Regions from separate parts of the Homo sapiens genome. Here all the other regions are linked to region 3. The links are contacts of gene promoters, found by promoter capture Hi-C in blood cells and fetal thymus (Javierre and others, 2016). All regions are on one chromosome and are shown on one strand. The core of a region is centred on a gene start or on the middle of the fragment in contact, and the rest is flanking DNA. Distances in the headings are between cores, read along the strand shown. Region 1 has its middle 63 kb from the start of ARL6IP6. Region 2 overlaps ARL6IP6 (ARF like GTPase 6 interacting protein 6). Region 3 holds the start of RPRM (reprimo, TP53 dependent G2 arrest mediator homolog). Region 4 has its middle 140 kb from the start of ARL6IP6. Region 5 has its middle 46 kb from the start of ARL6IP6. Region 6 overlaps ARL6IP6 (ARF like GTPase 6 interacting protein 6). Region 7 has its middle 130 kb from the start of ARL6IP6.

Region 1 (3,681 bases), core at 1,046-3,545, 700 kb after region 3:
CACCACTGCACTTCAGCCTGGGCAACACAGCAAGACTGTGTCTCAAAAAAATAAAAATTATACTATGTATTATTTATAAATGCACACATATGAATTAAAAATGTAAAAATCAGCCAGGCATGTGGTTTGTGCCTGAAGTCCCAGCTACTCAAGAGGCTAGGCTGGGAGGATCCCTTGACTCCAGGAGTTTGAGTCCAGCTTGGGCAAACACTGTGAGACCCCATCTCTAAAAAAAATTACATTCGTATTTATAACTATATATACACACACATATGAAACAGAAACAAAAGCACTCACAAACCTCAGAATTGTGGCTACTTCTGGATAAGGAGGAAGGGAATGAAATAAAGAGGAGAAATATTGCGGTCTTAAACTGTTTCTGTAATATATTTCTTTTTTTTTTTTCTGAGACAGAGTCTCACTGTCACCCAGGCTGGAGTGCAGTGGCGTGATAGCTCACTGCAACCTCCACCTCCCAGGTTCAAGTGATTCTCCTGCCTCAGCCTTCCAAGTAGCTGGGATTACAGGTGCACGCCACCACACCCAGCTAATTTTTGTATTTTTAGTAGAGACGGGGTTTCGCCATGTTGGCCAGGCTGATCTCAAACTTCTGACCTCGGTGGTCCACCCACCTCAGCCTCCCAAAGTGCTGGGATTACAGGTGTGAGCCACCGTACCTGGCCAATATATTTCTTTAAACAAAAAAAGATCGGAAGCATAACATATGGCAAATGTTAACATCTGTGTTGGGAATCCATAAAGCTACCCTGAGGTTCAATGATTCATGAGGGTTCACAAAAGCTGTTATACTCATGGTTATGATATATCACAGCAATAGGGCACCTAATCAAACCATCAAACAATAAATTTATAGGGCAAAGTCTGGGAGAGACCAGACACATGCTTCCAGTTGGCCTCTTCCAGTGGAGTCATACAGAAAATGCTTAACTCTCCCAGCACCTGTGTGTAACAGAGTTCCCTTTGTTGACAAAGGGAACTCTTCCAAGCCTTGGTGCCTAGGGGCACTCACATAGGCACAGAACAACCACATGATCAACCTTAACTATTCAGTCTCTAGCCTGCCTCCCCGGAAGTCAAACTGATATAGCCATAACACAGGTGAACAAAAACTAGCATTTACTATAAATCACGTTGTTAGCATAAACTATTTGACATGGCCCAAAGCCCCTGGTATACAGATACTTTTATCAGGCAGAATATTCCACAAGCTTATAGGTTATCTCCCAGGAATCAATTAAGGGCCTGGCCTTTCTTTGGAATGTGCAGGGTTTAAACACCACAAGTCCTCTGAGTTAATCCTTTTTAAAAAATCTGGATGGTGAGAATTTATATTATTCTGTTTATTTTTCATTGTTCAAAATACTTTATAATAAAAAAGAAAGGGAAGAAAGAAGGAAAGAAGGAAAAAGAGGAAGGCAGGCTGAAATTATTGATATGGGCTCACAAGCAGAGATTCTGGACTCAGCAAGTTTGCTTGAGGGGTTAGAAAGGGCTCTGACAGTTTGGTTGACTGAAACATGGACCAAAAGATGTCCTATGCTAAATAAATTGAAATGCCAGAACTGCCTTGGTATATTGTAGAGGAAGATATCAAAAGGCTTAAGGGGATTGGGATGTCAGAGTGGATTTATCAAGTAAGACCCGCTCATTCACACTGGGAGGGTCCAGAGGAGAATTTTAATAATCCAGAGCCTATTAAGACCCATTTTATGGCTACCAGCCAGCTTCTTTCCCTAGCCACTACTGTCATTGTCCAGTGGGCTCATGAACAAAATGGCCATCCTGTCAGGGATGGAGATTATACAGGGCTCAGCAGCATGGACTTCCACTCACCAAGGCTGACCTGGCTGCAGCCACTGCTGAGTATCCAACTACAGCAGCAGAGAACAACACTGAGTCCCCAGTATGGCACCATTCCCTGGAGGGATCCGCCAGCTGCCTGGTGGCAGATTGATTACATTGGACTGCTTCCATCATTGAAGGGAATTGTTCTTACTGGAACAGATACTTACCTTGAATACAAATTTGCCATCTCTACACACAATGCCTTTGCCAAAACTACCGTCCATGAACTTACAGAATGCCTTAGCAGCATCATGGTGTTCCACCTAGCGTTGCTTCTAACTAAGGAACTCATTTCACAGCAAATGAAATGTGGCAGTGGGCCCATTCTCCTGGAATTCACTGATCTCACCATGTTTCCCCATCATCCTGAAGCACCTGAGGTGTTTGCTGAGGGCAAAGAGAATATAAAACGGGTAGAGAAAAAGGTAGTTATATATCAGCTACAGCCATGTGACCACTTGCTGAAATGAGAACTGTAATAGTTACAAGTATTTCTTGCTTATTTTGTTATGAATGTAATTGATTGTGTATACATAAAGCAAACATTCCCTCATAACCCCCATCATCTAATACAACATGCATTAATACTAGTGAACTTTACATCACTGTATTTAAGCTACAGATATCAAGAAGGAGAGTGAACATCACCCACAACAGTATGGAGATGCCATTAAAAATTAAAAATAAAACTACTGTACAATCCAGCAATCCCACTTCTGAGTACATATCCAAAGGAAATGAAATAAGTATCTCAAAGAGATATCTGTACCCCTATGTTCACTGCAGAATTATTCACAATAGCCAAGATATGAAAACAACCTAGGTGTCTGATATGGTTTGGCTCTGTGTCCCCACCCAAATCTCATACCCGATTGTAATCCCCATAATCCTCACATGTGGAGGGAGGGACCTGGTGGAAGGTGATTGGATCATGGAGGTGGTTTCTCTCATGCTGTTCTTGTGATAGTGAGTTCCCATGAGATCTGATGGTTTTATAACTGTTTGACAGTTCCTCCTACATGCACTCACATTCTCTTCTACTGCTTTGTGATGAAGATGCCTGCTTCCCCTTTCTCCATGATTGTAATTTTCCTGAGGCCTCCCCAGCCATGTGGAACTGTGAGTCAATTAAACCTTCTTCATTTGTAAATTACCCAGTCTTGGGTATTTCCTTATAGCAGTGTGAGAACAAACTAATACAGTGTCCATCAATGGATGAATGAATAAAGAAAATGATGTGTGTGTGTGTGTGTGTGTGTGTGTGTGTGTGTGTGATGGAATATTATTCAGCCACAAAAAGAAGAAAATCCTGCCATTTGCAGCAACGTGGATGAAACTGGAGGACATTATGCTAAGTGAAATAAGCCACACACAAAAAGTGCTGTATGATCTCACTTATATATGGAATCTAAAAAAGTCCACCATCTCATAGAAGCAGGATGTGGAACAGGGACTGGAGGAAATGGGAAGATATTGGTCAAAGTATGTAAGCTTTGTGTTATAAGAAGAATGAGTTCTGGGGACCTAAGATACAGCATGATGACTACAGTTAATAATACAGTATTATTTATTGAAATTTGCAGAAAGAGTAGAATTTAAGCATCCTCAACCCTGCTCCCCAATACACACAAATAGGATAACTATGTGTGGTGATAGATGTCTTGATTAATTTGATTGTGGTAAACATTACAACAATGTATATGTAAATCAAGCCATCATGTTGTATACCTTGACTATATGTAATTTTTATTTGTCAGTTATATCTCAATAAAGCTGAAAAACGTTACACATAGGATAGGATACATGAGATCCTGT
Region 2 (3,776 bases), core at 72-2,571, 750 kb after region 3:
ATCTTTCCTGGTGAGATTAAATTACTTACGTAACTAATGCATTTTATGATACTAACAATGAAAATACAATACAATCATACACTGATGACAGGGATATGTTCTGAGAAATGCATCATTAGGTGATTTCGTTGTTGTTTGTACATCACAAGAGCGTACTTACAAAAACCTAGGTATATAGCCTACTACACACCTATGAGCTATACAGTTATATCCTATTATTCCAATGCTACAGACCTGTGCGGCATGTTACTATACCAAATACTGCACGCGACTGTAATACAACAATAAGTACTTGTGTATCTGAACATACTTAAATATAGAAAAGGTACAGTAAAAATACAGTGTAAAAGATAAAATATGGTACACCTGTATAGGGTACTTACAATGAATGGAGCTTACAGGACAAAGAGTTGCTCTGGGTCAATCAGTGAGCGAGTGACTGATGAGTGAAGGTGAAGGCCAAGGACACTACTGTCCACTACAATAGACTATTATAAACACTGTACACTTAGGTTACGCTAAATTAAAAAATTTTTCTCTTCATTAATAAATTAACCTTAGCTTACTGTAACTTTCTTACTTTATAAATTTTAAAATTTAACTTTACCCTTTTCTACTAACAGTTTAAAACAAAAGGACACTGTACAGCTGTGCAAAAATGTTTTTTCTTTATACCATTACTCTATAAGCTTCTATTTCTAATTTTTTAGTTTTTAAACTTCTTTGTTGAAATCTAAGACACACACACATTAGCCTAGGCCTACATAGGGTCAAGGTAATATCACTGTTTTTCACTGTCACATCTTTTTCCACTGAAAGGTCTTCAAGGGCAACAACATGCATGAAACTGTCATCTCCTATGACAACAATGCCTTCTTCTGGGATACCTCCTGAAGGACCTGCCTGAGGCTGTTTTACAGTCAACTTTTTTTAAGCAGAAGTAATATAATCTAAAACAATAAGAAGCATAGTAAATACATAAACCAGTAACATAATTGTTTATCAAGAATTATGTTATGTACTGCACGTAATTGTGCTGTATTTTTTTTTATGACTGGAAGGTTATATAAAACTAGATTGGTAATAGGTTGGTTTATACCAGCATCAACACCAACATGTGAGCAATATATTGTACTACCAAGTTAGGACAGTTGCAATGCCACTAAATAGGAATTTTTCAGCTCCACTGTAATCTTATGGGACCACCATCATACAGGCATATATGCAGACCACTGTTGACCAAAATGGTATGTGGTGTATGGCTGTACTTAGCTAACTTTAAAAGTTGTAAAAACTATTACCAGCTGGCTACTAATAAAACTTAGATGTATCATATGCATGAAACTAACCATCAATTTTTAAATGTTTATGTAAGCAAATGTTCTCAACTTTATTAGATTCTATAGTTTTCTAACTTGAGAGGATGACCATTATTTTAAATAATTTGGTATCCTCTCTAAATCACATTCTATAGATAGCTCAAGTCTTTAAATCCCTAGAGCAAAGTGTCTCTTTACACGTCAAAGCCAAGTGCAGGAGCAGAGGAAAGTGCTCTCTCCTCTCCTGCCAATGCAACATGAGCATAGTGGGTGCAGAGTGCATGGTAGCTATAGCAGTTACACTGGTTAAGGCCTTCACCCAATCGCCCGACCACCTGCAACCCAGACTGTAGCATTTCTACATCTTTCTGTTGAAACAGATGAGGAAGGTGATCCTCTGACAGATTAAGTGACTGAAATTTCAAAAATAAATAACACCTGTAGTTCCCAACATTGGTAAATCATTAGATTCACATGGGAAAATTAAAAAAAAAACCCAACACTTTTATTACAGATCATTTCAAACACAGGAAAAAGTTGAGAGAAGTATATAAAACTCATATACCCATCATCCAGCTTTAAACAATTAATTCATGGGCAATCCTGTTAAATTTATATTCTCCTCTGAAGCTTGTAATCTTCAGTATAACAGGGAAAACAGTCATCAATATTTTTATCATATAAGTCCAAAGAGGCTTTTTTATTTCCTTTATTTTCATGACACTTGAAGAATAATTTAGAGAGCAAAAAGACAGCAGGAAAAAAACTTTGTTAAAAATTTTCATAAGAAATAAATACAGCAAATCCGAATTTCAATTCCCAGTTTCCCTAAAGTCATGTACACCAAAAATGGGCACGACCTGAGTGCAAATAATTGCTTACTAACTTCATGTATGAATCTACAACATATCCATCTTGTAAATACCACTTCCAGATTTCAGATACATCTCAAATTGGTTACAGCTTGTCATTATTCCTGCTTTTTTTTTTTGCACTTGCGTCATTAAAACACAATGTTTGAAGGAATTTTTAAGCCTTTCATGGCTTATTTTGACGAAAAGAGGACAACAATCTTCTTTGCTCCATAATTTGTAACATATTTTCATTTTTAGATTACAAACAATTCAAATGGTCAACCCAATAATTCTTTTTTGCATTTTTTTTTCCAAATCACCTTTGTATACACATCTGCCCTTAGCATCTGTCCACTTACAAACAGTATCAAATAAATTAGGATGCAGACCTCATAAAAGATGAAAAAAATACTTAAAGTCTTAGGAAAGTCTTACTGGAATCCTAATTCCATCATAATTATTTTATTCTTTCGACCATAGTTGAGAATTGATGAGTAATACTAAAATAATGAAATAGGAGAATGTTTTGAGAAAGAACAATATGTGACCACTAAAATCCCAAAACGTATTTCAAAATTAAAAAATGTCCAATAGACCAATGTGGTAATTTCAAGATCAAATAAACTTTATGAGAAATATAGCTCAGTTTTCTTTATTCTTTTGAAGATCCCTAAGAAAGAATAAGTCATGAAATTTCAATCCTTACAAACAGAACTGCTCGAAATAATTCAGAAATGAAAAATGGTCCAATGAGCCCTGATTGTACAGTGTACACTGACACATACAGCCAATTAAGTTACTTCGATTCAGTAGATAATTATAGGGTCTAAGATTCCGTAAAAGCAAAAAAAGAAAATCTCCAGGGTCTTCGTTTTTTTGCTTTTTTTTTTATGTCAGGTTTGGGAACTACTAGGCCAGTGGTGTTCAAAGTATATATAGCCCCCTAACTAGCAGCATGCAGAGCATCAACTCAAAACTTGTCAAAAATGAAAATTCTTGGGCTCCATCTCACACTACTGAGTCAGATATTCTGCACCATGTGAAGAGCAGCAAAATTTATCTTTCAGGTGATTCTGATGCCAGCTAACTTTTGACTTCATTAGCCTAAGAAACGTCCCTCCCAACCACCAAAGTTGGACTACAGAGTACCACACAATGTCAACTCAATTTATTGAGATTTAGGGGTCCTAATGTCTGGTTCTTATTACTGCTTTTATGTGTTAAGAAGAGTCCTGTAATAATTTCATGACTAATAATTTAGCTGCACATGGCTAATTCTTGCTGATAACCCATTCTTTTTCTGCCTTGCTATACTACCTAGACTATCTATGGTATAAAAATTATAATACATACTTTCTTGAGTTTTGGTTTAGAAGAAAATAACATTGATGGATACAGTGTAGTTGAGAATACTAGAGGAAATAACACACAAATTAATGGCTTTTGGCATATTGTAAAAGTGCAATAAATGGTGTTATTGTTAATTACTGAAACATTATTCTCTAAACTTAAATTTGTGCTTTCCCTTAAAGTTTTTCTTATTGCAAGTTACACTTATACATTGTAGAAAATAAAAATAATAAATACAACCAATCAATTCGGA
Region 3 (3,932 bases), core at 1,431-3,930:
AGATTTCTTTTTTCACACTTGTGAGATTCTCCTAAGAAACAGGTGAATAAAAGGAGAAAAACTGAAATTGTTCACTGAAAATTCAAAAGGAAAAGATAAATAAAAGGGATTCTGTAAAACATAAAGATTTCTCTAGCAACACAGATCCCCTTAAGTCAATTAATGAATGAATAATAAATATAATTTTTGTATGACTAAGTTTATAATTAATTTCCATCTATATGTTCTAAGTAATTTTATTAAACAAAATCAGAGTGGAGGGAAAATAAGGGAAACAATCCCAAGATTGTCTTGAACAAAACCAGAGAGCTGAACTAGCTGATGGGGGAAATACCTATTACCTTGTCAACAATTTTGTGACTAATTAGTCCTTAAACCTGAGAGAAAAGATCCCACCCAAAGATTTGATTAAATATAAAAACTCTCCTGACTCCAAGGTTTGATCATTTTAACACTGACCTGACGAAAACAGCAATACTGTTCCTAGCAATAAATATACTCAAATTCTGATAATGATTCAACTAACACTTTTAGCATCCTTCCATATTGGATCTTACAAATGTACTATAAACTAACTCTTGGTTTTTGTCACATAAAGAAGGGGCTCTCCATTTGCTTACACCTAACTTCTACTGAACACACAGTTCTGTACAACTTGATCCCTGGAGGTGGGCCTCTGTTCTCTGACCTTTTATTTTTCTAAATTTCTATTACTTTTCTCTACCATTCATCTCAGGATGACTTTATATTGCCTTAAATTTGTTGTAATTTTTTCCATGTATACATTACGTTTTATTATTCTTGAGGACTACCCACATTAACTAAGATAGACTGATTGTATGATGAGATTTAAGTAAATTCTTACTTATCAATTATTAATAAATTTCTTCAAAGAAGAAATTGCCGAGAGTGAGGTATTTTTCAATTCTAATTAAATTATGGGAAACTAGAACAATAAGCCAGTGAATTGTGGTAGAAGCCCAAGCCTGAATTTTCAGCTGTTAAACATCCCCCTCAAAATAATAATAGCTATTTTAAAAAATCAAACTTATTGCAGCTGATATACCATAAATATCAAAAAATTGAAAACTCAACCAGAAGGCATTTCATTCTATTTTATGATAGTCATGAAGCAGTGCAAAAACATTTAAGGAACACTCTGAAGATGGAATAAATGATGTTTTAAGAAACAGAAATAAGAGGATTTACCAAGCAAACAGAATGAAATTAAGAGTAGAGTTGAAAATGGCAAGACAGCTACTATTTTTCAGTTTTATTTTATTTTTAATTGACAACTGTACATATTTATGAGGTACAAAGTGATATTTTGATACACATATACATGTGGAATGATCAAATCAGAGTAATTAGCGTACCCATTATCTCAAATTTTTATCAGTTCTTTGTGGTGAGAACATTTAATAGAAAGTAAATGTATTCTATTGGAAGCTCAAGTTACTGGTTTCCAGCTGTTACAGCTGAAAGAAAGAGGGAGGAAGGCAGGGAGTAATGGGGAAAAGGAGGGAGGGGAAAGAAAACAGAAAAGGGGGAGCGGGAACATGCAATATTCTTTCAGAGTTAAGAAACTTAATCTGACAGGTTTATAGAATTTCGTTGGAACCTAGAGCAAAATCACAATGGCTGAAGCGTCAATCAGGCCTATAAAAACATCTGTGTTTAGTTTAAATGACTAAGGGTGAAATACATCAGCTTATGGAAAATGGGGAGGGCTCCCAGTATTTGGCCAGCGTTCTAGGTGATGGATGTTGATGAGCAATTCCCTTCAACAACTGATTTACTGCCAACGGACAAAATGCTGGAAGCACATCCAAAAACTTATCTGCAATTAAAATTACAAGCAAGTGGTCACTCTGTTCACCTCCTTTACCAGAGAGGTGACCCTGCTCCCGGCAACTACCTCCACCCAAGGGCCACAGAAGAACTCCTCCTTCCTCTAACCCTCTTTCCTTGGCCTCAAACCTCACGGTAAAACCTGCCTTGCTCTGTCTCCCAATCGCTTTTGTAAAGGAAGCTGGGTGTAGAGCTCTTCTTTCTCCCTCCCTTCCTTTTTTCTTTCCTTCCTTCCTTTCTTCCTTCCTTCTTCCATGCCTTTCTGTCTTTCCAAATTCATTGCTTTGTAAGAAACATTCTCAGATCACCTCCACTCCACTAGAAATCCAACGCAGGCGAGTCGGAGTCAAGCACAGGCAGTGGGCGGGTGGCCTCAGCCGGCACCATCTGGCACCTGCGATTCATCGCCACTTTCCATTCGCCCAGAGGTCAGGGGGGCAGCAGGCAAAGGACACGCAGAGCTCGTGTGTCCCAGTTCCTCTGAAACTTTCAGCTGACCGCACCCTCCCCCGACAAACTCTTTAATCATCCATCAAGCTAGAAGAGTACAGTGACCTCTGCCTGGCCTTTGGAGTTTGCAAAAGAAGCAAGCAATAAAAAGCAAGACCAGGTTCGCCCCTTTGCTTCCTCCACCTCCCAAGAGCAGCGCGCAGCGCGGCGGTGCGGCCGGAAGGGGCCGCTGTTTGCTCAGCGCAGCCACCCCGCCGCTGCAGCCGCCGCGGCCCGCACCTCCCACGGCCGGGCTGGTCCAGCCCCGCCAAGTTCCAACAGCCCCCCCTCGAGCGAGCGCCGGGAACGAGCACCACCAGGGCTGGAGCGGACGGCTTTAGAAGAGCCTAGCTGCTGCGCGCGTCGGAGAGGCTCCTGGGAAACTCCCACGGCCCAGGGACTTTCGAAAGCAGAGCGAGGAGCCCTCGCACGCGCTAGTCTGCGAGTGAGCGCTCAGCCCGGCACCTGTTCCTCCAGCGCCGCCGCCTTCCCACCCCTCGGACCCGCGCCGCTCGCGGCGCCCGCCCGTTCCTGCGATGAATCCGGCCCTAGGCAACCAGACGGACGTGGCGGGCCTGTTCCTGGCCAACAGCAGCGAGGCGCTGGAGCGAGCCGTGCGCTGCTGCACCCAGGCGTCCGTGGTGACCGACGACGGCTTCGCGGAGGGAGGCCCGGACGAGCGTAGCCTGTACATAATGCGCGTGGTGCAGATCGCGGTCATGTGCGTGCTCTCACTCACCGTGGTCTTCGGCATCTTCTTCCTCGGCTGCAATCTGCTCATCAAGTCCGAGGGCATGATCAACTTCCTCGTGAAGGACCGGAGGCCGTCTAAGGAGGTGGAGGCGGTGGTCGTGGGGCCCTACTGACCCGCCCTCTGCCCCCGCGGCAACCGCTCCCACGCCTGCCCACTTTGCTAGCCCGGCTGTGCCCCTCACTATCAGAGACTGGGCGAAGCAAACCTGTCGGAGTCAATTATTTCTCTCGACTTCGGCCTTTCGGAAAGAAGCGACCGGTTTCTCCCTCGCCCTCTGAAAGTCCTCATGCCTGGCAGTCGGAGGAGAGCGCCCAGACTCTGAACTCAGCAGAAAGTGGCAAGAAGAGGGCGATTAGGGCGCAGAACTTTGGAAGCTGCTACTTACTTGGAATGCGGGGAGACCGACGGTGCGAAGGCCCTTCTCCACCCGCAGGTGGGCCAAGCTCTGGGGGCAGGTGGAGAGGGCGGGCAGGGGAGAGACCCAGCGGCACTGATCGCCTTGTGACCGGAAGAGTGACCTGTTAAAAGCCACGCAGCAGACTCATGGGGTCTCACAAATCCGTGTCCGGGTGCGCTCCCACTCTTCTCCTGCTCCCCCCCTGCCCTGGAGGGGAGGGGCGATAAATACCTTTGATTGTAACGTGCCGTTTTAAGAGGTTTTGTGTTTGTTTGCTTGAATACAAATGTTTGATAAGTCTTTTTCTGCCCCAGTGGCCTGTTTGCCTGCCTGAGGAGTTACAGTTTTGTCATTGTGGGAGAAGGGGTGGGGGGAGGGGGAGCCTGCGAATTTGAACGGGGTGAGTTGTTTCTTTTAGTGCATTTCCCACTGGGTCTTTTG
Region 4 (4,072 bases), core at 189-2,688, 620 kb after region 3:
GGCTGTGACTATTCTGTTTTCAATAACAATACCCTCTATCCTGTCCTCCTACACTCACACAGTCCTTTCCACCTTTTGTATTTTATTTTATTTTCCCCATAGAACTTACCACCATCCAATATACTGTGTATTTTACTTCTTTATTTATGTGTTATCTCCCCCAACACTGCTACAATGTAATTCCCTAAGGATAGTGATTTTTTTCCCGTTTTTCTTTTCCACTCAATACTGAATCGTTAACACCTAAAACAATGCCTAGCACTAAGAAAGTCTTCAAAAATATTTGCTAACTGAAGAAAAGAAGGAATATTGTCAGCCTTGGAATGAGTAGAACCCAAGCTCAATTTCAGCTCTGTCACTTACTAGTTGTGCTAGATGTTGAGATGTGTCACCCAGACTCCCTTCTAGGGGTGACCTGTTGCCCCAGCTGTCAGCATTCAGGGTTTTCCTCAGCTGCAGAGTCACCTTACTGAGAACACACCCTGTAAAGACAGCCAACAACCAGTTGCTGATTGAGACGTTATTGACACAGGGGCATCACAATTTATTCTGATCAACAGAATGTACTCAGGAGCTCCCCCTGGTGTTGACTATAGCTAGTGGCGCCTGTGTCACATTTCAACTTCTTTATCCGCCCAATCCTGCTTCCTACCTCTTTTCTTCCACAGTTGTTAATCCTTGATAAGTATCCTGCACACCAAATCCCATCTCAGCATTGCGTGGGAAAAACCAACCTGTAACACCAGCTAAGTTCCCAGAATCCCATATGCAATATCAACTAAAACTTCAACTTTCCTCAGCTTCCCTCTTCCCCAAATCTTAGAGGTGCCTCTGAATGGTTATGACATATAATTAGCAGCCAACTCAGGAGCAACTTGAACCTCTCAGGGCATCCACACTCTCCTGCAGATCTATATGTGGGCAGGGCTGAAGAATGGTTCAATGTAGCACAAATTCCTGAGATGAGGCCTGGCATGCCCCAAGGATCCTGCCTTGGGGGGCTCTTAGCAAAGTTTTCTTTCCACCACGGTGAAATAAGGGATCTTTGTTCTGCTGCTATTTATCCTCCTTCTCCGTTCCCACACTTCACAGAAACACGTTTGTTTTTATTCACAGTGTTCGTCTCCAGGTCGTAGCCCCCAGAGGCACTCTAATGACTTTATAGCTAACACACCTCTGAGCCTGGATCAGGACTCTTCAAATAAACAATAGAAAATTGATAACAATAATTACAGCAACTAAACGTTGGCTTTCTAATGTATTCCAACCATTAGTAATGCCACAGACATCATGCTATTACACTGCAGTTAGTCATTTTCCGTATCTAGTTAGCTACACTGAGCTGGGAGGCAAATTACTAGTGACCACTGAATGAGTACAGTATGCAAATGTTGTACAACCCCAAATTCACGACTGTGTACCCAGTGCATAGCTGGAGCCGAACACTAAGATATTGGTGCTTGGAGATGCAGAGATGTGTTCAAGTTGGCCAAAGCAAGAAGGCAGGAGAGCAAGAACTCTCAAATTTGTCTGGGTTTTTTGTTGTTGTTGTTGTTGTTGTTGAGATGGAGTTTTGCACTTGTTGCCCAGGCTGGAGTGCAGTGGCACGATCTCGGCCCACTGCAATCTCGGCCTCCTGGGTTCAAGTAGTTCTCCTGCCTCAGCCTCCCGAGTAGCCGGCATAACAGGCATGTGCTACCAGGCCCAGCTAATTTTTGTATTTTTTTAGTAGACATGGGGTTTATCCATGTTGGTCAGGCTGGTCTCGAACTCCCGACCTCAGGTGATCCAACTGCCTTGGCCTCCCAAAGTGCTGGGATTACAGGTGTGAGCCACCACGCCCAGCCTCAAATTTGTCTTAACAGAAAGATGAAACAGAGAGTTTTTATACAGCTAGAGAAAAGGGGGAAGAAGTTTCAGGGAACTAAGAGGAAAAGTCTGTGTTTCCTCAGTCTCAGATAACACCTTATACAACCAGACTTCTGGGTGTCAGCAGCTGGTTGCAACATCTTTAAAGGCATACAATCCTCCTCCCAAAATTGTTTGTGTCCCTGAAGTTGTCTCTTCCTGCTTGACAAAGAAACAGTACACTGGCAATTTATAATTATATTGTGGGAACAAGGGATGTTTGGCAAAAAGTGAGCAGTTAACATGCGCAAGCAGGCAAGGGCCTAATGAGAATTTTCATTATTTCAGCCACTAAAAATGCTGGGGTACTGAAATCTCAAGGGATGAGCTTACACATTCAGTACAGATTTCTGCCAGGTTCTGTTTAGGTTTAAGTCCAGGTTCAGTATTACCTAGGAGTAAGAGACTTAAATCCCTATTAATGAATCCTCTCAGATATAAAATATCATAGAAAACATAATTTTCTCCATTCAAGGAGACGATTAGATTTTAAATATCTAGTTAGTGGGTACTAAGCTAAATAGAGAAAGGAAAGTACATTTTTTCTATTAAAGTCAAATAATATAGGTGACGACTTTAAAGATAAATTGATTATCTGACATATTATGACTGTTCTCTTGCCACTAAATTGAGAAAAGATCTGAATAAATCACAAGGTCCAAACAAGTAAATCTCATAGCAGAAATATTTTAAAAGAAAAAGAGGCTAAATTACCTGTAAACAACATTGTGTCTTCTCGGAACTCTTTCTTTTTTTGTGCTGTGTATGAAGGTATTAATAGCAGCTTTGCATGTCCAGGAACCTCTGAGCTGACACTGGTAAGTTTTCAGAAAACCCATTAGGCTAGCCACAGTGTTAAGTATTCTTTAAGTAAGAAATGGGAAACATTGCTTCCATCATAAATATGCATGTTTGGATGTAATCTGTGAGAAAAAGAGAGAGAGAGTGTGTGTGTATACAGTATTGGGTAACAACGTAAAATGTATTCATTTCTCTGGGTCTTCATTTGTTTTTTTTTTAAGTTTGAAAGCCACTACTCTAAATCAACTGGTAAAAGCTACTCACCCTCACTCCTTTCCCTCCACACAGATATCAGCTCTTCTCCACAATTCCCAGGGGCAGCCAGCCTCTGTGCCCAGCTGGGGACACCCCAGTGGCAATTAATTTACTGACATTAATGGGCAGAATGTGTTCCCATGGCACTGTCATCACTCCTTCATTTGTGTTCCTTTACTCATTTCTGTCCCCAAGACAGAGAACCTCCTTTTCAGGCACAATTCGAATGCCAACAGCTGCCTGCCCAACACAGCTCTTGTGTGGCACAGTCATGCAGCACCAGCAGGGCGATGTTGCCATGAGCAGGATGTGACTTGACTGTCTAGGGCAGTGACTGAAAGGAATAGGACCCCAATCCACAAAAGACAAGTCATGGTATCCTAGGACAAGTGGCTCTTACATTCTGGAAGCTGTGAGATGACAAACTGGCATACAACAGCAGGAGGACAAAAGATTTAAGGAGTCTACAGTAATGCAAAAACAAATACAAGCATCTGAAGAGCCTCTCACCACCAAGAGGCACAAAAGACCTAGTTATTTAATCAAAATGCAGTTTCAGAAAAAGCAAAGACTCTTTGTGTAGGAAGTCATGGTAACATTGTAAAAGCTTAATTAAGACACAGATGGTTGGGTGCGGTGGCTCACGTCTGTAGTCCCAGCACTTTGGGAAGCTAAGGAGGGTGGATTGCTTGAGGCAAGGAGTTCAAGACCAGCCTGGCAAACATGGCAAAATCCCATCTCTACTAAAAATATAAAAATTAGCCAGGTGTGGTGGTGTGTGCCTGTAGTCCCAGCTACTTGGGGGGCTGAGGCAGGACAATCGCTTGAACCCGGGAGGTGGATGTTGCAGTGAGCTGAGATCACACCACTGCACTCCAGCCTGGGCCACAGAGTGAGACGCTGTCAAAAACAAAAAACAAAAAAACAAACAAACAAACAAAAAACAGCACAAATAAACTATAAAGAAGAGATCTTGAGGTCAATGGGAAAGGAGGAATACTGAATTTTCCATCCAGCTCCCTTTTCTCACATGGGACCAATAATTTTCATGTTGTCAAAAAAAAAAGGAATATAGTATATTTGCAATGTAATCCATTTAATTTCAAAG
Region 5 (3,895 bases), core at 809-3,308, 710 kb after region 3:
TTGCCCCTGGAAGGCAAAATTGCCCTTGCTTAAGAACCACTGACATAGATGCATCCTTTCATTTTCCTCAAGTCCTGAGTAAGTTGTATGATCAGATTCCCATCCTGCTTCCTACTGTCATGCAGCCTCTCTTCATTCAGTCCGCAGCCTGGCCTCACGAGGGTTTGGTATAGATAATTGACTGATGTTGAAACTCAAGCCCAATTTATAGATGATTCTGTGTAATATGTTACTACCAGCCAAAAATGAGGTGGTGGGGGGCATAAACCCCCATTCATAGGTGGTAGCAATGTGCAGTGAAAAAGAAATTTTTCCTAGGGAGTTCAATATAAATTTCAAGCAGTTCATACTGTTGTCTCCTTGGCTAGAAGAAGTATGGTATGAAATAAGGATTATGTATATTCAAGGAGAGTGAACTAGTAGTTTGGCTGGATTGCCAGGGACTTGACAAAGGACTGGTGCCAACTTAAGAAAGGTGGGGAAGAGATATATAGATGGAGCTCTTTAAATGGACCCAGAATTGAGAATATTTCTGAGCTATGTGAATGCTCACAACAAAGCCTTCATTGCGAAAGAGGCTCTAAATAATCAGGTGGACAGCATAACCTATACTGTAGATGGTAGTCTCTGTCAAGCCAATGCTTAATGGGAGCATAAAATGCTAGGATGGTGGGGTAGTCAGATGGACCCACACTTTCAGAGGCTTTCCTGGCTGCTGCTGCCTTTCTATCTCTGCTGCCCCACTCCCACCCCACCAACTTCTCTCCCTCTCTCTCTTTATGGCATCATATCTTGGGGGATGAGCCAGCTACCTGATAGCCAATTAATTGCATTAGATGAGGTAGCACTTAGCAGTTTTGTCCCCACTGGTAGATACATTATGGTCTTAGATTTGCTTTCCTTGCCTCTGGCAGCCCTACTATTTACTGCATAATTTATACATTATCATGGATTCCCACCACATTGCTCTGGTCAAGGAACTTACTACCCTGAGGAGGTAAGACAACGTGCTCAATTGCTCAATTCTTTTTTCTTTTTCTTTTTTTTTTTTTGAGACAGAATCTGTCTGGAGTGCAGTAGTGTGATCTCGGCTCACTGCCCTCTGCCTCCTGGGTTCAGGTGATTCTGTCTCAGCCTTCCTAGTAGCTGGGGTTACAGGCATGTACCACCACAACTGGTTTTTGTATCTTTAGTAGTGACAGACTTTCACCATGTTGCCCAGGCTGCTGTTGAACTCTTGGCCTCAAGTGATCTGCCTACCTCAGCCTCCCAAAGTGCTGGGATTACAGGTGTGAGCCACCACACTTGGCCACACTCAATTCTTATTTTGTTGACTTCTCTCTTATAATGCACCTTCAACACTGAAATAATCTATTCAAGAGTTAGTTATTAAGCTAGCTGACAGTTAACACTAAAATGGCATCTTTCTGGATGCAATGTATGTTTTTATCCAAGAACTGATTTTTGCTGGTTTCTCCCATGCCCATATTACATGGGTTCAAGAACCAAGACACTGCCGGATGTTTCTATTACACCCAGTGACCCAATAATAAAGTTTTTGCTTTCTGTTCTTCTGAGTCTGAACTCTGTTTTAAAGGTTTTAGTACTTAAGGAAGTTCAAAAAGAAAACTGGTTCAGAAGAACCGGAAGTTCAAACTGCCATCTGGTAATTTTAGATTCTGTATGCCATGAATAATCATGCAAAAAAGAGGGTCACTATATTAGTTGGTGTGTTTTAACATTATAATACAAATGCTGCCACATAATAAGCAAGGAAGAATATAGAAGGAAAATATATTTGTTCTCGTACTGCCACATACAGTGGCAAAAGATGAACTAAGAGCTGAAATGTGTCAGAAATAAAGCTTTGGTCGCCATTATCAGGGAAGAAACTTAGCCAACGTAGTAGCCAAAGCAAAGATAAAATAGAATACATGTGTATAGAAGGGAAGGTGTCATAACCAAATGCTTAATTTAAATGACAGTAACTTTGATCTGTATTTTCTTGCTCTCATATATAAAGTGTATTTTAACAAGTTTCCCATCTTTTTGTCCTTCTTAAAAATATTGTTCTAGTTCACATAAAAAAGCAATGTCTTAATAAGTATTAAAATGACTAGTATAATTTGTAGAATATCAATAAGAGAATGTGGCAAAACTAGAAGGGACATAATCTGAAGGTCCTGGCTTTGGTATTGGATATAGTATACAATGGCTACATTGTTACATATGAGTACTGTTGTAAGCTTAAGGGTGAAAAGAGAAGCTGACCAGCAGAGTGTACAGTGATTATTTGTATTTGTGGTTGCTTGATATCCATTCAACCATCCCAAAATAATTTCAGATGCTGCCTTCAACTAGAGAAGCCAAAGGAGTAGGCACACAGTCTAATCTTGGCCAACTGGGCACTCTCTGCAAGGATCCATCTATATACATTATCCTGACCAGGCTATTCCCACTATCAGACAGTCCCTTTGCTTCATTTTCCTTGACTCTCTGGCACTTTCTAGGTTCCTCCCCACCAGTCCTGATTCCCTTTTCCTTAGTCAGATGGTGTGACAGTTAATATTAAGTGTCCACTTCATTGAATGATGCAAAGTATTGTTCCCGGGTCTGTCTGTGAGGGTGTTGCCAAAGTAGATTAACATTTGAGTCAGTGGACCGGGAGAGGCAGACCCACCCACAATGTGGGTGAGCACCATCCCCTCAACTGCCAGAGAGGCAATAATAAAGCAGGCAGGTGGTGGGAGCAGTGGACTTGGTGAGTCTTCTGGCCTTCATCTTTCTCCTGTGCTGGATGCTTCCTGCCCTCGAACATCAGACTCCAAGTTCTTCGGCTTTTGGACTCTTGGACTTACACCAGTGGTTCTCAGGCCATTGGCCATAGACTGCAGGCTGCACTGTTGGCTTCCCTTCCTTTGAGGTTTTGGGACTCGGACTGAGCCACTACTGGCTTCCTTGCTCAACTTGCATACAGCCTATTGTGGGACTTCACCTTGTGGTCGTGTGAATCAATTCTTCTTAATAAACTCCCTTTCATGTATACATATATCCTATTAGTTCTGTCCATCTACAGAACCCTAATACAGATGGTTTCTGGCAGCTGACATAACCAAGAGCATGGGCAGAAATAGGAAAATAGACAAATATAGAAAATCTCTTTTTAAATCTGACTTACCAGAAGTCTGTCAATCATATCTTTTCCAGGAAACGACTTTTGGTATTGGATATTGTCCCCACTTCTTTGGTGTGAGTCTCCATTGATTGTATCCTTATCTTTCCTATTTCCAATCTTTCTTGTGTGTGTGGTGGGGGCGGGGATGTTACTCTGCTGCTTGTGCTTTTTATCTGCATTCTTAGCTCTTTAGCTTTCAATAGTACTTTCGTCCTGATAAATGTATTTGAAGTTATAAATTACCCTTACACAGTGTTTTATCTAGGTCCTACAAATTCTGACATGTAGTATTTTCACTGTAGTTTAAGTATTTTGTTAAGTATTATTCTTCCCATTCGACAGGTAAGGAAACCGGGAAATGCTAAGATATTAAGTAACAGTTGTAGTTCAAACTCATTACGTTGTATTAACTAAAGAATCATATCTTGATAACTACAGTAATATTCTTTCTGATAACACTTAAGGTGGAACTGAATTTGGGGACATAATTTCTTGATGAAACAGCAAGATTAATAATAGTTTAATTTATTCTAAAATGTCTTTTCAAGTCCCTGAGACTAATCACTAGCCACAGGAATACTTACACCCCGTTTATCTTTCACAAGTAACTAAATAGAATGCTGTAAGCTACACATAAGGAGATGAGATCATCTGAGTCAGTTTCACAATAGAGATGGATTCCAGCTGCTAGATAAGCTCATTTTGACTTGTTTTGTTGCA
Region 6 (4,175 bases), core at 1,576-4,075, 730 kb after region 3:
ATTACCTTAAAAAGAAAAAGTTAGAGACAGAATAACAGAACTGAGCAGGTCTCTTGTCATGTTTCAGGTTGTTTATTGTTTTTATGCTAGTTTTGGTTGATCTGAACTGAATCTCTATACTACAATACTAAACACCAGACTCCACTCTGTTAGAATAATTGTTCCATGCCATATTTATTCCTGTATTTTCTTTCCCACACAGGTATTCCCACATGTCAGAGATGCTTTTATGACAGAACTCTTGTAATTTAAAATAATAACTTCATTTCCAGCTGATACTGCTTTAAGCAGAAAGCGCTCTGTGCTTGCCAGAATAAGAAGATATGTTAAAGGCCCATCTTAAGACCCAACTGGCTATTCGTTTCTGTGTCTGATTGGCTCAGAGGGAGAAGGGATGAGCAAGATGGTACTAATCTATTCCCCTTTCACACATCTGAGCTGCCTTTGTTTTCTCATTCTATCCCTAGCCCAGGAATCTCCAATTGCTAAAAGTTTTTAAGCTGTATAAGCTTTGTTTGGAGTTACTATCAGTTAGTTCTTTATCTGGAATCAAAAGATCTTAACACTAAACCTGAAACTTGGAAAACAAAACAAAACAAAAAAACAAGCAACACCGTATTTTATTAACTTAAAAAGCATTTCCTTTTTAGAAACGTAAAACTACATTAACTTTATTATATCCTTTTGTCCTAAAAATTACTTGTTAGAAATTGCTGAAGAGCAGACAAAGTTGATTTCAATGAACTTGACCATTGTTATTTAAGAAATCAGGGTTAGAATTTTAAAGAGAATGCTTCCCTAATTTCACTTCTTTGCTATGTCTCTCCTTAAGGAAAAAATAACACACATGACTTTGCCTCTTACTTTTTACTCTAAAGTTCTTTATAACTTTCTCAATTCCCTTTTCATTCACCAAGATTTACAGAATACTCGGTATCAGGTATTAAATTACATACAGGAGATAGAGAAATTAGTAGGGCTGGATGCGGTGACTCATGCCAGTAATCCCAACACTTTGGAAGGCTGAGGCAGGAGGATGGCTTGAGGTCAGGGATTCCAGACCAGCCTGAGCATATAGGGAGACATTGTTTCTACAAAAAAAATTTTGGCCAGGCATGGTGGCTCACGCCTGCAATCCTAGCACTTTGGGAGGCCAAGGCGGGTGGATCACTTGAAGCCAGGAGTTTGAGACCAGCCTGGCCAACATGGTGAAACCCCATCTCTACTAAAAATACAAAAACTTAGTTGGGTGTGGTGGCCTGTAATCCTAGCTCCTCTGGAGGCTGAGGCAGGAGAATTGCTTGAACCCAGCGGGTGGAGGTTGCAGTGAGCCAAGATCATGCCACTGCACTCCAGCCTGGGTGACAGAGTGAGACTATCTCAAACCAACAAAAAAAGGAAAAAAAAAAAGAGAGAGAAATGAGTAAGGAGTCAGTACTGCCTTCGAAGATAACAGAATCTTGTGACGTAGTAGATTGTTTTGCAGGCAGTATTACTGGAACATAAAGGAGCCATTCAGCTTGTAGAAGGGGAGAAAAAATTCCAAAGAAGAGCTAATACCTGAACTAAAATTGAGTATGAGGGATTTAGTGTTCTAAACACCTAACAGTATGCGCAGAAGCAAGAGACAATGGAGAGAATAGGAAGCTCAATTGTTTAATATGATCAGAATGAAAGACCTGGAAAGCTAGCTCTCTCCTCACTGGAGTTTAGTCATGGCTGTACTAGTCACAGAACTATTTTAACCTACCAGAAAATCTAATTCTCAATCTTTAAAATGAGGATAATAATTCCTTTCATTAGTGTTCTTATTAAAACTAAATGAGATAATATTAACAATTAGTTGTTGGCTGGGCGTGGTGGCTCACGCCTGTAATCCCAGTGCCTTGGGAGACTAGGCCAGGAGGATTGCTTGAGCTCAGGAGTTCAAGACTGTCCTGGGCAACTTAGTGAGACCCTATCTCTACAAAATAAAAATAAAAAATTTAGCCAGGCATAGCAGCACTCGCCTGTAGTCCCAGCAATTTGGGAGGCGGAGGCAGGAGGGTTGTTTGAGCCCAGGCAGTTGAGGCTGCAGTGAGCCATGATTGTGCCACTCTGCACTTCGGCCTGGGGCAACAAAGCAAGACCTCAAAAAAAAAAAAAAAAAAAAAAAAGAAAGGATAAAATCTCAGGATAAATAACAATTATCCAAGAAAAGATAACTGGCAACTTGTGGCAGGCCATGGTCAGACTTCCAGCTCAAAAAACCTTAAGAAAAGAAAACCTCTGACACTATGTCTGCTTTATCATCTGACGTATCTGTTGCTTTAGTAAACTTACACTTACTGCCTATGAGGGTACCATTATTTTTACTCCATTTTAGAGATGAGGAAGTTATAGCTTGGATATACTAACTGACTTGCTCAAATGTCCTTCTGCTAGGGTAGGTTGGATTTGGAAGCTACCTCTCCTGACTTCAAGACCCTTTTTAATTATATCAGGCTGCCTCTGGTAATTTATAGGTTGTTAAACAAACAAAAAGGGTTCCAAGTACAAAATTGGCAAGCACTGTCTCTCAAGTATTTCTTGTCAGTATTGCTCTGGGCATATGGACACTTGTCCCTCTTCAGCTACTCATATATAACACTGTAAATAGCACAAGCAAGAGCAGCTGGGCAAGGTGGCTCATGCCTGTAATCCCAGCACTTTGGGAGGCCGAGGCAGGTGGATCACTTGAACCCAGGAGTTCGAGACCAGCTAGGGCAACATGGCAAAACCCCGTCTCTATAAAAAATACAAAAATTAGCCAGATTAGCCAGATGTGGTGGCGCATGTCTGTGGTCCCAGCTACTCAGCAGTCTGAGGTGGGAGGATCGCTTCAGCCCAGAAGGCAAAGGTTGCAGTCACCCAAGATCATGCCACTGCTATCTAGCCTGGGCAACAAAGTGAGAACCTGTCTTTAAAAAAAAAAAAAAAAAAAAAAAAAAAAAAAAAGGTACAAAGCAAGCACTCATTAGCTGTATCACTTTATGGAAACAATAAAACCAATAGTTAATACAATTTCCTAGAGGATTTTGTTATATCTATGCATATCTCCATTCAGAACAGTAATGAAATATATCTTACACAATATGCATGTACTTTAACCCTTTACTTCAAGAAGCCGCGGTGCAATGCCATCAATATATTCATTAATAGTGACAGCACTGTAATTGATGGCTCTGAATAGTCCCCAGATAATGAGATTTCATGATACTCAAATATCAAGGCCAAGTTCCTGAACCATCTCTTTTGTCAGTAGCTTTTCTCTCCTACTGCAATTAGCCATCTGACATCTGTTTCATTAGTTCATGGCAATAAAGAATCTGATTCGACAAAGAGGCAGCTCTCCAAAATCTGTATCAAAGAGTAGTAGAGTCAATTCACTGTGCTCAATGTTAAATCTAGTCTGCATGGAAAAGAAATTTCTAATTTGAATACTAACTAACCCACTGTTTTTGACCTCCAAGGCTTATATATATGCCCAAGTTAAGAACCTGTAACACTCGTATATTATTTTATGCTAAAGATGTCCACATATACTTATTTCCAAGGAGGGAAAATCAGTGCTTGTATTTAGTTATGAGGATAGGCTAACTGTATTAAAGAAAACTGAGTGCTGCTGGAAATTTCAAATTTCAAGCAATTCAAACAAAAATCAACTTGTTCCCTTTTCTTGAATTGCATATTATGATTCAACTGTTTTATTTGTTCTCTATCTTCCTAACCCTCAATGTGAAGACGTCAGAGAAAAACCCTAATAACAATATTTTAAAGACCCAAACTAATGTTGAATAGAAAAGTAACATTATAATACAGGATGCCAATACTGAATCCTGAATGTTCCAGGAAATTCACATGTCAAAGTATTTTACTATCTGCTGCTCCCTACTACAGTTAACAACACACTCTCACACACAAATGTTAGCATCTAATTACATACAGAACGCTTTACATAGGAAGTAACACATGTAAAAGAGTAATAGATCATGTTACTCTCTAAAATAGTTACTAAAAACAATTTACCAAAAATTAATTCAAACTAAAATTAACTTGTTCCCTTTTCTTTCTCACTTACAATTTATTTTGCAGATTCCAGATTGCATTGTAAGGCAATACAATTTTTTTAAACAAGGATGCATATAAATAATGTT
Region 7 (4,117 bases), core at 724-3,223, 630 kb after region 3:
TTACCATTTATTAACTTCCACTCTGGCTACCTATTAGAAACACCTGTGGAGCAATTTAAAATCCCTATTCCCAAGATGAGAATGAGGCCTAACAATACAAATGGGGAGAGGGGAACAAGTATCAGTATTTTTTTAGCTTTTTTTTTTTTTTTTAAGAGACAGAGCTCACTTTGTCACTGAAGCTGGAGTGGAGTGGCACAATCATAGCTCATATAACCTTGAACTCCCAGGTTCAAGTGATCCTCCCACCTCAGCCTCCCAAGTAGCTGGAACTACAGGTGTGCGCCACCACACCTGGCTAATTTTTTTTCTCTTTTGTAGAGACAAGTTCTCGCTATGTTGCCCAGGCTGGTCTCAAACTTCTGACCTCAGGCAATCCTCCTGCCTCGGGCCCTGAATGGGCTGGGATTCCAGGCACTAGCCACTGTGCCCAGCCATCAGTATTTTCTCACTCTTCCCGTGGATTCCTAGGTGTAGCCATGAGTAGAAGTAGAACCACTGCCTAAAAGAGGCTTGACCTTCAGCCAGATATAGGTAAGTGACTCTATCCTGCATGCAGGGACTCAGCTACACTGAGTTCTTAGAGACAGACTTTTGGGTCTCAGTTCTGATAACTAGACTACTGCCTTCTTCCTCCATCCACATCCCAGTTTGTGCCTCTATTCTGGTTAATGAGTTTCTGCTTATATCCCTGTGTTGGTAACTGACCATTGCTGTAGTCCTATGGGAAGAGGTACACTGTATGTAAAAGTAGAACGACTTTGAGGTCAAATACATTGAATCCTGGCTCTGCCACTTACCAGCCATGTGACATTAGCTAAGATACTATGAGAGAAACAGTAAAATCACCTGAAATCTCAACACCTTCAGATAACCACAGTTAATATTTTATAACCAACCTTAATGCACCTCTTCATACATGTCTATACAGGTATGTACATACACATGTATTAAGTTTCACATAAATGAAATTCTGCAACATGTGTTGTTTTTGTTAGTGTGGAAAACTCCCCTAGTCCTTCGTTTTTCATCACTTCAACCTCTAAATTCCACTTCTTCCCTCTCCTCCAGCCAGGAAACTATTGTTAACAACCTAGTGTAATCTTTCATTGCTTTTCTAGGTTCACAGAACACTCAATACACACATAAGGGTTTTCCCTCAATTTTTGGCTTTTTAATAGGATATTAATATATATATGTACTTTCTGGCATCTTTCATTTCATGCTTAAAAATACATTATATGCTGGGTGCAGTGGTTCACACTTGTAATCCCAGCACTTTGGGAGGCGAAGGCAGGAGGAGTGCTTGAGTCCATGAGTTCAAGACCAGCCTGGGCAACAGACGGAGACACCGTGTCTATTTTTTTTAAAAGTTTAAGATAGAAAAAAATGCATTATGGAACTCTCTCAAAGCAAAACTAGTATAAATCTGTATAGAACTAATACATTATTTTTATTGGTTACATACCATTCCATCCTACGAATTGGCAAAATATATTAATATGCATTAACTTATTTCCAGAAAAATACCACAATAAACATTCTTGGGGGTGGTATGTACATACACGTCCTTACACACTGAAGCTTGATTTCTCTACAATAGAGTTCTTGGAGTAGGATTTCTGGGTCAAATCGTGTGTTTAATTTGCTTATTGTGGATATTGCCAGATTATTTTCCAAAAAGGCTGTAACAACACACAACACACATGTCCAGAAACAGTGCATGACAGTGCCCTTTCCCACATCCCTGCCAGCAGTAAGTTTATCCATCTTTTTAAGTTTTTGCCAATTCAATAGATGGTTGAGAAAGGAGAACTCAATATTTAATTTGCATTTTTCTTATTAGTACTAACGTTTAAAAACTGTTTCATATGTTCATTACTCATTCTGGATTTGCTCTTCTGTGAGTTACCTAGCTACAACTTTAATAGAAAAACTTCCAAGAGAGTTTGCTATTTGTTTTCTATTTATAACAGTTCTTTGCCCATCATTGATATTTATTCTTTGTCTGTTTTATAGAATGCATATTTTTCCCAGTGTCTCATTTGTCCTAATTTTGTTTATGAAATTTTTATCCTCTAATTTCCTAATGTAATCATACATGTCTACTTTTATGGTTTTTCACTTCCATGTCTTGCTTAAAGGGCCTCTTCAATCTGGATTTCACTAATTTTCATCTAAGATTTTTATTTTTAAAAAAATTTTAAGTATTTGATGCAGCTATAATTTATGTTTATTATATAAAATAAGGTGTCTCATAGACACTGTCAGCACTTCCCTTCCCCTATATCCTTCAGAATATTCCATGTGCCCTTGTAGATTTCTAGCTGCCAGTGTCTGAATCCCTGGGCCTGAAAGCTTTATAACAAACCTATGAAAGGCCATTAGCACCATGCCTCACAGGTTCATAGTACCAGGGAATTAGCAACATCACCATCACCACCAAGCAACCCTCCAAAATGAGTCTCCAGAATTGGAATAAAAATATCCAGTTTCCTTGACTGGAGCCAGCTAAATAATTTGCAGGGCCCAGTGCATAATGAAAATCTGAGGCCTGCCCTGGGAATATGGAAGTCAGTACCTCTTTCCCATATACCCACTGCCCCAACTGGTGGTGGATGGGCTACACTCAAGGGATTGCAACCTCTACGTCAAGAGGCACTCAACCTAGATCAAGGGTGGGTGAAAGGCTCTCACTAAATTGCCCACCAAAAGTGCCAATGATGCTGCTAACCCAAGGCAGAGACTCTCAAGTCCAAGTGCAACCACCGCACACCCAACACATTCACCCAGGCCCCTGCTAGTTGTAAAAAGAAACAGCAGAACATGCTCCCGCTTCCTATCCCACCCCAACCCATACAACCAGGTTACCACTATAGAGAGAGGGTGGCAGGCATTGCAGGGCAGCCTCTGAGCCCCCAGGTGGTAGAGAGCTAGCAGACAAGAAACTTCCAGAGGAGGTAAGGAGGCAGGAGAGGTGGGGTCTGTGAGCTAAGACTGTAAGCCCCTGGGGTACGCTCTATTGTCCCAGCAGACTTCACTTACTAAAACACAAATTCAAAGATAAAGAATTAAAAATGTTAAGAGGCTACTAGAATATTAAATACCAACAGCAACACCCTTTTGTATATCAGCACAGTGACATTAAACTTACTGAAACAAACAAAAAAGGAGATACAACATATTAAAGCCTTTGGGAAGTAGCAAAGGGAATTCCAAAAGGGAAGTTTATAGCCGTAAATGCCTACATTAAAAAAAAAAAGATCTCAAATAAACAATCTAACTTTATACTGCAAGGAACTAGGAAAAGAAAAGCAAACTAAACCCAAAATTAACAGAAGAAAGGAAGTAATAAAGGTCATAGCAGAAATATAGAATACAAAAATTATAGAAAAATACTGCAAAATTAACAATTGAGATTTTTAATACACAAAATGGACAAATCCTTAGCTAGACAAACTAAGAAAAAAAAGGTTCAAGTAAATAAAATAAAAAATAAAAGTGGAGACATTACAATGAATACTTCAGAAATAAAAAGTATCATAAGGGACTATTATGAACAACTACATGCCAACAAATTGGATAACCTAGAGGAAATGGGTAAATTCCTAGAAACGTACAACTTGCCAAAATTAAATCAAGATAAAATAGAAAGACTGAACAGACCAATAACAAATAAAGTGATTGAAATCATATTTAAAAGCCTCCAAAAAAAGAAGATCCCAGGACCAGATGGCTTCACAGCTGAATTTTACCAAACATTCAAAAAAGAATGAATACCAATCCCTCTTAAACACTTACAAAAAATAGAATTAGAAAGAATGCTTCCAAACTCATTGTATGAGGCCAGCATCACCCTAATAATACCAAAGCCAGGCAAAGACACCACAAGAAAACTACAGAACAATACCTTGGATGAACATAGACGCAAAAATCCTCAATAAAATGCTTGCAAACTGAAGCCAACAACACATCAAAAAGATTATATATCCTGATCAAGTAAGATTTATCCCTAGGGTGCAAGGTTGATTTAACACATGCAAATCAACTACTGTGATACCCAACATTAACAAAATGAATGAGACAAATTGAATGAGACATGTGAATGAGACACATG

The links. The method cuts DNA at HindIII sites, captures the fragments that hold promoters and counts their contacts. A CHiCAGO score of 5 or more calls a contact.
Region 1: a contact is called between a fragment that was not itself captured here and the fragment with the promoter of RPRM in region 3, in 1 of 17 cell types (M2 macrophages). The highest score is 6.0, in M2 macrophages.
Region 2: a contact is called between a fragment that was not itself captured here and the fragment with the promoter of RPRM in region 3, in 1 of 17 cell types (M1 macrophages). The highest score is 5.6, in M1 macrophages.
Region 4: a fragment that was not itself captured here is called in contact with the fragment with the promoter of RPRM in region 3 in 5 of 17 cell types (M2 macrophages, endothelial precursors, M1 macrophages and 2 more); the score reaches 19.9 in M2 macrophages.
Region 5: a fragment that was not itself captured here is called in contact with the fragment with the promoter of RPRM in region 3 in 3 of 17 cell types (endothelial precursors, M2 macrophages and M1 macrophages); the score reaches 6.6 in endothelial precursors.
Region 6: a contact is called between a fragment that was not itself captured here and the fragment with the promoter of RPRM in region 3, in 8 of 17 cell types (endothelial precursors, M2 macrophages, M1 macrophages and 5 more). The highest score is 10.8, in endothelial precursors.
Region 7: a fragment that was not itself captured here is called in contact with the fragment with the promoter of RPRM in region 3 in 2 of 17 cell types (M2 macrophages and M0 macrophages); the score reaches 8.0 in M2 macrophages.

Annotation. Positions count from the first base shown.
Region 1 is chr2:152,779,643-152,783,323 of GRCh38, reverse strand. No RefSeq gene overlaps it. Among named protein-coding and RNA genes, the nearest start is that of ARL6IP6, 63 kb to the right of the region's middle. The HindIII fragment of the contact is 2,128 bases long and covers 1,232-3,359 here.
Region 2 is chr2:152,724,185-152,727,960 of GRCh38, reverse strand. The region is part of intron 2 of ARL6IP6 (ARF like GTPase 6 interacting protein 6); the gene reads right to left. Among named protein-coding and RNA genes, the nearest start is that of ARL6IP6, 7.5 kb to the right of the region's middle. The HindIII fragment of the contact is 1,260 bases long and covers 692-1,951 here.
Region 3 is chr2:153,477,510-153,481,441 of GRCh38, reverse strand. RPRM (reprimo, TP53 dependent G2 arrest mediator homolog) reads left to right here and starts at 2,680. Exons shown (of 1, transcript NM_019845.3): 1 at 2,680-3,932. The coding sequence starts at 2,877. The coding sequence ends at 3,206. It also overlaps a transcript of GALNT13 not described here. RefSeq lists a silencer at 2,446-2,645 and enhancers at 3,002-3,505, 3,506-3,932. The HindIII fragment of the contact is 6,762 bases long and covers 1-3,932 here.
Region 4 is chr2:152,858,049-152,862,120 of GRCh38, reverse strand. No RefSeq gene overlaps it. Among named protein-coding and RNA genes, the nearest start is that of ARL6IP6, 140 kb to the right of the region's middle. The HindIII fragment of the contact is 4,271 bases long and covers 1-3,573 here.
Region 5 is chr2:152,762,414-152,766,308 of GRCh38, reverse strand. No RefSeq gene overlaps it. Among named protein-coding and RNA genes, the nearest start is that of ARL6IP6, 46 kb to the right of the region's middle. The HindIII fragment of the contact is 381 bases long and covers 1,868-2,248 here.
Region 6 is chr2:152,744,803-152,748,977 of GRCh38, reverse strand. All of the region lies in intron 3 of ARL6IP6 (ARF like GTPase 6 interacting protein 6), which reads right to left. Among named protein-coding and RNA genes, the nearest start is that of ARL6IP6, 28 kb to the right of the region's middle. The HindIII fragment of the contact is 4,628 bases long and covers 512-4,175 here.
Region 7 is chr2:152,842,274-152,846,390 of GRCh38, reverse strand. No RefSeq gene overlaps it. Among named protein-coding and RNA genes, the nearest start is that of ARL6IP6, 130 kb to the right of the region's middle. RefSeq lists an enhancer at 1-80. The HindIII fragment of the contact is 774 bases long and covers 1,587-2,360 here.